Regions from separate parts of the Homo sapiens genome. Here all the other regions are linked to region 3. Evidence: promoter capture Hi-C in human tissues and cell types (Jung and others, 2019). All regions are on one chromosome and are shown on one strand. Each heading gives the region's core, a stretch centred on a gene start or on the middle of the fragment in contact. The rest is flanking DNA. Distances are from core to core; before and after follow the strand shown. Region 1 overlaps ST8SIA6 (ST8 alpha-N-acetyl-neuraminide alpha-2,8-sialyltransferase 6). Region 2 has its middle 77 kb from the start of ST8SIA6. Region 3 holds the start of ST8SIA6 (ST8 alpha-N-acetyl-neuraminide alpha-2,8-sialyltransferase 6).

The links. The method cuts DNA at HindIII sites, captures the fragments that hold promoters and counts their contacts. A contact is called where the count stands out against the background at its distance.
Region 1: a contact is called between a fragment that was not itself captured here and the fragment with the promoter of ST8SIA6 in region 3, in 2 of the 25 tissues and cell types used here (aorta and spleen).
Region 2: a contact is called between a fragment that was not itself captured here and the fragment with the promoter of ST8SIA6 in region 3, in 2 of the 25 tissues and cell types used here (H1 embryonic stem cells and IMR-90 fibroblasts).

The regions. Positions count from the first base shown.
Region 1 is chr10:17,354,293-17,357,674 of GRCh38, forward strand. The region is part of intron 4 of ST8SIA6 (ST8 alpha-N-acetyl-neuraminide alpha-2,8-sialyltransferase 6); the gene reads right to left. Among named protein-coding and RNA genes, the nearest start is that of ST8SIA6-AS1, 31 kb to the right of the region's middle. The HindIII fragment of the contact is 4,443 bases long and covers 1-3,382 here.
Region 2 is chr10:17,530,203-17,533,443 of GRCh38, forward strand. No RefSeq gene overlaps it. Among named protein-coding and RNA genes, the nearest start is that of ST8SIA6, 77 kb to the left of the region's middle. The HindIII fragment of the contact is 5,175 bases long and covers 1-3,241 here.
Region 3 is chr10:17,452,803-17,456,091 of GRCh38, forward strand. ST8SIA6 (ST8 alpha-N-acetyl-neuraminide alpha-2,8-sialyltransferase 6) reads right to left here and starts at 1,793. Exons shown (of 8, transcript NM_001004470.3): 1 at 1,353-1,793; 2 at 757-855. The coding sequence starts at 1,453. The HindIII fragment of the contact is 8,458 bases long and covers 1-3,289 here.

The DNA.
Region 1 (3,382 bases), core at 356-2,855, 99 kb before region 3:
ATTATCCATCAGTTTTCTAAAAATCAGAGGGAGAGACTGTGAAGAGCAATAATTTCTTAGACTGAAATCCAGGTAGATTTTTCACAAATTATTCTGTGCATTAGCTTGTCCTTGGAGGGAAGGGGGTGGGGACCTCTTATAGGAGAATCAATCAAGCTTTTAAAAGCAGAAAAGGCAGACACCTCAACATTGTTGACTTTGTACTGCTACACCTAAAAGAAATTAGATACCAAGAAAGAACAGAGAGCAGGACATCTTCAACTCTTACTTAAATCTCTCTTTAACTGAGTTCAACTAGTATCTCACAAAATGTAAATTCATAGCGGAAACTTAGAATCTGCGGTAAATTTCAGGTAAATCTGAGCCAGACTCACACCTATGCTTGGGATAACCATGCCATCTTGGAAGGTGATTGGATAGGCATCCTGGATAGGCAATTGAATCCCAGAGTCTCAGGGCCAGAAAGATCCTTAGAAATACATTAGTCCATGTGGAAGGTTCTAGACTCTTGGAGAATCTGATGAAAGCCACAGATTCTTTTCCCAGAAACGTGTACAAAATCTCACAATTTTGAGAGTTTTAGGAAACCGCTTTCATGGACTTCAGATTAAGAATCTTCCTAGTTAAGCCTTTCATGTTTCCGGGTAAAAGCTGAAGGAAGTTTGAGACTCAAGCGCCAAGCTGCCAAGTTCTCAGACCCACAATTAAGTGCTGAATGAGTAAAAGCTTAGGAATCTATAAAAAGAGGACAAACCCCCTCGTAGCACAACAAGAAAGTTAAAATAAAATTGCTGAGAAGATAGACTTGGAGAAGCCCTATCTCTTACAAAAGCCAGATTTAAACTGCAGTTGCTTTTCTTTTTTGAGAGAATTCATTTTCTCTTAGCATTTATATTTTCCCCAGACCAAGCAAAAGGTCTTCTGTATCCAGTTGTCTTAAAGTCAGCTCAAACACATCCTGTCCAAGATGCTTTTATCTTCTCAATCCAATTTCTCTTTGAAATCTTTCTGTCAGTAGCAGCATGAGTATTTCAGATGCAGGATTTCTCATTTGACTTTATTTTTCTTCTCCTTCAATGAGAGAACTGGAAGTCAACAAGTAACCAAGTCCTACCAAGTCTTCAGTCATAGAGCAATTTATTGGGTACCATCTATGAGATAGGCACTGGAGATACAAAGATAAACAAGATAATGCCATGTCCCCAAAGGGCTCATAGTCAAGCATCTCTCTCTTGATATTTTCATAGCTACCGTTGATGTTGTAGTTGGTCACCATTCTGTAGTTACTTGTCTACAACCAGCCCCTACCTGCTCTGATTTTTCTACACTACTCCCTCCCTCCTAATACTCCAACTTGCTTTCATTCATTATGCTGTCCGAATACTTTCCCTAAAACAGTAAATTCAATTTGTAATTCCTTTGCTAGCAATATTGCTCTTGGGCTCCTGGTAGCTACAGAATGTCTGTGGACTTTACTCTGATAACCAGATCTCCATGCATCAGATCCTTCCTTGTCTACCTGAAATTATCCTCTTTATCTTGCGTACCTAATAGTACAAGTTCATTGCTCCAGCCCAGCTGGCCTTGAATCTTATTGCCTTTCTTCCTGGCCTCATCACTCCCAAATTGGTCTCACCCTCCCTTTGCAGCCATCTTCAGAGTTATAGCTCAAGTTCTGCCTCTTTTCACAAAATATTTCAAAAAACTATATCCCACAGTGATCTTGCATTAATATATGACAGTATTTGTCTAAATCACTCATTCTGATATTCAATCATAAATATTCATACTTATATTTCTTGTCTTTCTAAAGTGACTATAAATTCTTTGAGTTCAGTAAGAAAACATGACACTTTTTTGTTTACTTTCATGCATCCATTTCTTTAATATTTTTTTTTGTTGAGGCCCTATTTTGTGCCCAGCACTCTAGCAGGAACAAAAAAAGACTACAGTGCTCTAAACTATACAGTGCATAGTTTAGAAATATGCCCATAAAAAGAACATTACAATATAATAAATATTCAAGTCAATAAATAAATGTCTGTGTGCCTGTTCTCTTCTATGACAACAAAATGTATTATAGCCCCAGAGGTTTACTTTTTTTTTTTTTTTGAGGTGGAGTCACTCTGTCAGCCAGCCTGCAGTGCAGTGGTACAATTTAGATCACTGCAACCTCTGCCTCTCAGGTTCAAGTGATTCTCCCGCCTCAGTGATTCTTCTGAGTACCTGGGATTACAAGTATGCCCCGTTATGCCCAGCTAATTTTTATATTTTTAGTAGAGATGAGGTTTCACCATGTTGGCCAGGCCAGTTTCGAACTCCTGGCCTCAAGTGATCCACCCACCTCAGCCTCCCAAAGTGCTTGGATTGCAGTTATGAGCCACTGCACCTGGCCTAAGATGTTTACTTAAATTGGCCCTGAAGGGATGGATAGGCCATTTGGAGTAATTGTCATGGTTACTGATGCATTTTTTTTTAATGTGAAAATGGTACTAAGGTAATAATGGCTGTACCCTCCATGGACCAGCCATCTATACAGATTCTATACCTCATAATCTGCAGCAGTGACTTTCATACATCTCTGGATTTGAAGAGACTGATTTTTGTCCAAAAAAAAGAAAGGAAAGGAAGACAAAAGATTTACAGATAATAAGTTATTAAATGGAGCCAGACATTGTGAGTGGATACTTATAGAGATGATTTAAGGCTCTGAATAAGGTTACCTTCCCCCAAGGGAATCCCCAAGAAGGGATTTCCTTCTGCTCCTATCGGGCATCTAAGTTAAGGGCAGATCTAAATCCAGCTCAGGATGGAAATGTTTCAAAGTTGGCCTTCAGTTCTTTTTTTTTTTTCTTTTGAGACGGAGTCTCTCTGTCATGTCACCCAGGCTAGAGGGCAATGGCACAATCTGCAACCTCTGCCTCCTGAGTTCAAGCGATTCTCCTGCCTCAGCCTCCTGAGTAGTTGGGATTACAAGTGCATGCCACCACGCCTGGCTAATTTTTTTTTTTTTTTTTGTATTTTTAGTAGAGACGGGGTTCCACCATGTTGGTCAGGCTGCTTTTGATCTCCTGATCTCGTGATCCACCTGCCTCAGCCTCCCAAAGTGCTGGGATTACAGGCGTGAGCCATACGCCCAGCCCCTTCAGTTCTTTTAAAAACTGGTTTTTCCAGGGATTCAAAGTTGGCCTTCAGTTCTTTTGAAAACTGGTTTTTCCAGGGATTGCTGGAAGCTCTGCTCAGCTTCTCTGCCTCTCAGCCAAATTTTGCTTTTGTATTCGGCAAGTTCTTTATGACAAAAACCAGCCCAAATTGATGGGTTCTTTTCACCTTCTGGGCTTTAGTCCTTTAAATTCTCCCTGCCTTCGTGGCAGGGAGGACC
Region 2 (3,241 bases), core at 529-3,028, 77 kb after region 3:
ACCCAGTCTGTGGTATTCTGTTATAGCAGCACAAATGGACTAACACAATGTAATTCACCACATTAGCAGAATAAAGAGGCAAAACATTCAATTATCTCAGTATCTGAAAATAAAGCTCTAGATAAAAGTCAATACTGGGAAGGTGCGGTGGCTTACGCCTGTAATCCCAGCACTTTGGGAGGCTGAGGCAGGTGGCTCACTTGAGGTCAGGAGTCCGCGACCAGCCTGGCCAACTGGTGGAGGTTGCAGTGAGCCAAGATCCAGCCTCTGCACTCCAGCCTGGGCAACAGAGCAAGACTCTATCTCAAAATAAAAACAAACAGACAAACAAAAAAGTCAATACTGGGTCATAGATAAAAGTCAATTGTCCATCAACAAGAGAATATATAAACTAATTATGCTATATTCACAGGATGGGATACTACTCCATGATACCCACAAACCAATAATAGAGGGAATTTTCTCAACTGGATAAAACGTGGCAACAAAAAACGTGCAGCTACTATCATTCTTAATAATAGACTGTTGAATGTTGTCCTCCTAAGTCAGAAATACAGTAACGATGTCTACTCTTACCACTTCTGTTCAATATTGTACTAGTGGTTGTAGCCAGTGCAATAAGGCACCAAAAAGAGATAATAAAAATTGGAAAGAAATAATTTAGACTGTTATTCAAAGATAACATCGCTTTGTACATAGAAATCCTAAGGAACCAACAAGTTCCTAGAACTAATTTGAGTTTAGCATGATTGTGGGTTACAAGGGCAATGCAGAAAAATCAATTATATCTGTATATACCAACAAAAAACAATTAGAAAATTAAATTTTTTTAAGTTACCACTTAGAATAAATGACATTAAATACTTTTGAGTGGAGAGTACTCAAACCTAAAAATTAAAAACATTGCTGAGATAAAGGAGACATAATAAGAGTGATATACAATCTTCATGGAATGGACTAGCTTAGGGGTATTAAGATTTCAGTTCTCCCTAAACTAATATTTAGATTCAGTGCAAGCCCGGCAGATGTTGGGGTAGGTGGGAGGCAGTGGAATTATATTGCTGATGTGAGTGTAAAATAGTACAACCTCTTTGAAAAAACTGGCAATTGCTGATAAAGTTAAACACAGAGTTACCTGTGACCCACAGATTCTACTCCTAACCAAGGGAAACAGGTAAGTGTGTCCACTAAAAGACTTTTCCAGAAATACTGATTAAAGCTTTATTCATGATAGGTCAAAAGTGGACATAACTCAATTGTCCATCAACAAGAGAATGCATAAACTAATTATGGTCTATTCACACAATGGAATACTATTCAGTGATAAAAAGAACAAACAACAGATACACGTTAGAACATGAATGAGTCGTGAAAATATTATTTATGGTGATTGAAAGAAGCCAGACACAAAAAAAGTACATATTGTAAGATTTCATGTGACGTTCAAGAATATGTAATACTAATCTCTGCTGTTGGAAATCGGAAGAGAAGTTGCATGTAGGGTGTGGGCACTGATGACAAAAGGGCACGAGATAATTTTCTGAGATAATGGAACTATCTTATATTTTGATGTGAATGGAGATCACACTTGTGTCTGTGCGTGTGTGTGTAGACGTATCTCAAGCTGTACACTTAAGATTTATGCATTTTAACATGTATAAATCATACCTCACTAAAGTATTAATATGTATATATATATATATTCTCCCCCTCATTCCCATCTCCCTTCCTGCTCTATTTTTCTTTTTTCACACTTACCCTATTCTGAGTTACTACATTATTTCTTACTTGATTTTTACATTGTCTGTCTTCCCCAGTAGAATGTAAGTTCTCTAAAGACAGGGCTTTGTTTGGTTCATTGCTGGATTTCAGCGATGAGAACATTATCATATATTAGACAGTTAAAAATATTTGTTAAGGAAATGGAAGGCATCCACATTTTATGCCTTATATTTATTTATTTATTTATTTATTTATTTTTGAGATGGAGTTTTGCTCTTCTTGTCCAGGCTAGAGTGCAATGGCACAATCTCGGCTCACTGCAACCTCCGCCTCCTTGGTTCAAGCATTTCTCCTGCCTCAGCCTCCCAAGTAGCTGGGATTACAGGCGTGTGCCACCACGCCTGGCTAACTTTTGTATTTTTTTAATAGAGACGGGGTTTCACCATGTTGGATAGGCTGGTCTCGAACTCCTGACCGCATGTGATGCACCCACCTCGGCCTCCCAAAGTGCTGGGATTACAGGTGTGAGCCACTGCGCCCGGCCATATGCCTTATGGTTCTGATTGTGTAATTAAAAGCTTTCTTTCCCGTTAAAGGAATGGCCAACAAATGGAAGAAACAATGGCTTTCCTCTCACTCCTGAAACCAAAATGGTGCTGAAGGTAGACTCTTTCAATTCACATAGGCAGCCACTCTCTGAACAAAACAAGGACTCGGAATCACAGAGTCACCACTAATCCTCTTCTACTTTTCTCTTTTCTATAATACTTCTTCTTCCTCTTGTCACTTTATCACTAAACTCAAACGCTGAGTCTTTCAGCAGTGGCATACTTAGCATATTTGACATCAACAGCATATCATTGTTAGCCCACCCACCCCCAAGAGGCCAAAATTATTTTTAGTAATAGCCGTGCAATGAAATAAATCATAATAATGGCCAGAAAATAAACACAGTGAAAATTGATTTTAACTCTCTCTGTATGATTATGCCAGAAAAAACATTGTTAATAAAATTAAAATTAATATTATGATACAAAAAAAGAAAAAGGTAATGAATTAATTCTTTTTAATTGGATTTATATTTTTATCTTGAAAATGAGGGGAAACATTTTTATCTATGTTCAATCTCAGTAATGAACAATAACGTGTTCTATTTTAAAGTCTAAATGACTTCATCAAAACTGGTCTTTTCTGGCCAGGTGCAGTGGCTCACGCCTGTAATCCCAGCACTTTGGGAGGCTGAGGTGGGCAGATCACTGGAGGTCAGGAGTTTGAGACCAGCCTGGCCAACATGGCGAAACCTGGTCTCTACTAAAAATACAAAAATTAGCCAGGCATGGTGGCGGGCACCTGTAATCCCAGCTACCCGGGAGGCTGAAGCGGGAGAATGGCGTGAACCCAGGAGGCAGAGGTTGCAGTGAGTCAAGATCGCACAACTGCACTCCAGCCTGGGCAACAGAGCAAGATTCTCCATCTCAAAAACAAAAAAACCTGATCTTTTCTGTATATATGGTCATGC
Region 3 (3,289 bases), core at 543-3,042:
ATGACAGGTATAGGTCTAGGATTTTTAGAAAAAAGGCAGAACATAAACTGCAATGTATAATCTAAGTTATATTTTTGAAATATATGTATATAGAAAAGACTACTGGAAGAAATATAGACCAAAACCACCTTGAATATGGTCTCTGAGAGGTAAGGACTCTGAATGAATAACATTTTCTTTTATACAGTTCTATTTTCTAACTTTCTGCACAAAGCTGTATTACTTTTACAATCTGAAAAAAAAACAATTACTGCCTATGAATAAAAACACATGTGAATGATAAGAAAAAAAATTTAAGCCTCCAGTCACTAAGGACAAAATCATTCCTAGCACGCAAAACAAACCTGAATCTTAACACCGGTGCCCTTTAAAGCATAGAAAAGAAAAAGCAAACCAACCAAATCCCTCCATAAAGACAGGCTGAGCTGCTTCTCTCCAAAGGTGGCGGGGTCGGGGGCGGGGGTGCTTTCAACACACCATTGTCGAGAGGAAAACTCAGCACCCGTTTTTCAAATGCAGCTGCTGGAGGATCCCCCTTGATTCAAAGACCATTCACATCCAGGCTTAGAGGGTTGAGGGAGTGTGAAGGGTGCCCCCCCCCAACCCCGCGCCCTCTTCAAACACACGCACACTCTTACACTCACTCGCGCCGTCCCAGCCTGCCTACTCCCAACGAGTCCAAGCCGGTGCAGCCGCGCCCCATGCCCGGCTCGCAGCTCCCGAGCCCCAGTCCGCCCGCGCTGGGCGCCGCTGTACCTGTTAGTGGCGCGCGGTACCGCGGTCGCCGGGCTCCGGAGCGTCCTCAGCGCTGCGGGGGTGCCGTGGGTGGCCTCCCTGCTTTCCTCCACCAGAATCCTGCACAGCCGGGGAGAAAACTTAAGTTGCTACACCCCGCCGGGAGCTGTTGGCTGAAAGGCTGGGAGTCGCGCTCCTTGCCTGGCAGGGAGATCTCGCACTCCCCGGCTCCCAGGCCAGGTCCCCAGCCCCAGAGTTGGAAGAGCCTTAGGGCGGGAAGGAAGAGACAGCAAGGACCAGAATGGGGAGCATGAGATCCTGATGCGGAACCCGACGGCAGGTCCCGCTCCACAGCTGCCTCGCCCACAGCGATGCGCGCTAGAGCCCCCGCAGCCCTGACCGGTCCCTCTGCTCCCCAGCCGCCGTCCACCGGTCGGAGGGTCGCCTCCCTGCGACCCCCTCCCCCACTCCACTCTCAGGCCGTCGCCGCCCGTGGGCTGCTCCCCGCCGCGGCCAAAAGTCTCCGCGCCCGAGGGGAAGCGATGGGCGGCTTGGGGGTCCGGGGGCGCCAGGCGGGGCGCGCGGCGCGGGGCGCGGCCGGCGGGTGGGTGGGTTACCTGGCGCGGCCGGGCGCGTCTGCCGGGCACCAGAGCAGGCGCAGCAGCAGCAGCAGCAGCAGGCTGGCGAGCAGGGCGAGCAGTGCGCCCCCCGGCCGCATCCTGAGCCACAGGCGCCGCCGCCACCGCTGCTGCCGGGGCGAAGCACAGCCCGGGCGGCCCCGACTCGCGGCTCCCGCCGCCGCCGCCACCGCCGCCGTGGCCGCAGCCCCGCGCACCCACAGCGTTCACAGGCGGCAGCGAGGGGCGCCCGCAGCCCACCCGGCAGAGTCTCCGCGGCGGGCGGAGAAGAAGCCGCGTTCGGGCTCGCCCCGGGCTCCCGGCCCCGGCCCGCGGAGCGCCGCGATCGGCTGGCAGATGACGATTCGCCGAGCTCGCCGCCTGTCCTCCCGGAGGCGCTCGGAGCTGCTGCGGGCTCCGGTCGCCGCTGCCACTGCTGCTGCCGCCGCCGCCGCGCGGGGTCACCTGAAGGTTGGGGCGCGGAAGCTCAACTCCGTGCTGATTGGGCTCCAAGTTTTCTGCGCCCTCGCCTCGTCCCGAGTGCCCGCGAATCCCCCGGACGCCCACGCAGACCACCCAGCCACACCACAACTCTGCCTGCGGAGAGAGGAGAGGAGAAAAAGGGGCCGCTTCAAAAACTTTCAAAACTGTGCAGTCGCTTGGCTGGATCCTCCCACGCATGAAGAAAGCTGGGGACTGGGGAATTGCTGGGTGGATCATGACACTGAACAGAAGCAGTAACCTGTGCTTACTTCAACCCAGATTCAGAGGGACAGCGAACTGGTATGAGGGGCTAGGAGACCTTTAGGCATGAGCACATTACTACCTGGAGACCCGTTTAGCCCCTGCCTGTATTTGCAAATAGTTTTATTGGAAAACCTCCATGCCCATGGCTTTGTATTATCAGTGACTGCATATGGCTGTATGATCTAGGGCTGCAAGGGCAGAATTGAGTAGTGATGACAGAGGTGGCATAGCCCACAGGGCCTAAAATATTTACCATTTGAAACTTTCCAGGAAAAGTTTGCATACTGCTCTTAAATAAGCAAGAGGCCATTAGCTTGAGGCTGTCTCTGTACGTTGAGTTCCCACCTAACAATGGAAACCTACATTAGGCTGTAATGAACAGGGGGCTACTGGCCAATCATGGGCAACCAACTCATTATACCAGGCCCCACAAGGCAGCCTGCATAGCTATAGCCAATCAGTTTCTCCACTGTGCTTCTGAGTTTGGCCTATCAGGCTTTGCTGCTCACACCATGGGGTGGACCTCACTGGACCTCCTCTGGTTGTGAGTGCTGCCCAATTCATGAACCCTTTGCTCGAATAAACTGTGCTAAATTTAATTTGTCTGATGTTTTTCTTTTAACACTGCTATGGGCTGAATGTTTGTGTCTCTACAAAATTCATATGTTGAAACCCAAATCCCCAATCTAATGTGGTGGTATCTGGAGGTGGGGCCTTTCATACCTGATTAGTTCATGGGGTGGAGGCTTCCTGGTGGAATTAGTTCCCTCATAAGAGCAGGCAGCGGGGAATTTGCCTCCTCTCTCTCTGCTCTGTGCAGTGTAAAGACACAGCACGAGGGCAGCTTTCTGCCAAGCAGGAAGAGGACCCTCACCAGAACCTGACCATGCTGGCACACTGATCTTGGGTTTCTTACCCTCCAGAACTGTGAAAAATAAATTTCTGTTCTTTCGGTCACCCAGCCTATGGTATCCTTCTTATGGCAGCCAGAACTAAACCACGGTCTAGATCATATTGGTTAGTATCTCATTTACGAGTATCTCATCTGTTGCAGGAGAGTGATCCAATGACACTATGAAACAGACTGGCTCTCTATTTTTTTAAAAGTGGGTCTCAACTCTCTATGCCCTAAACTATCCTGACTGCCCAAGCCCCCACTTAGCCACTTCCCTAGGTTTTAATTCCATTGT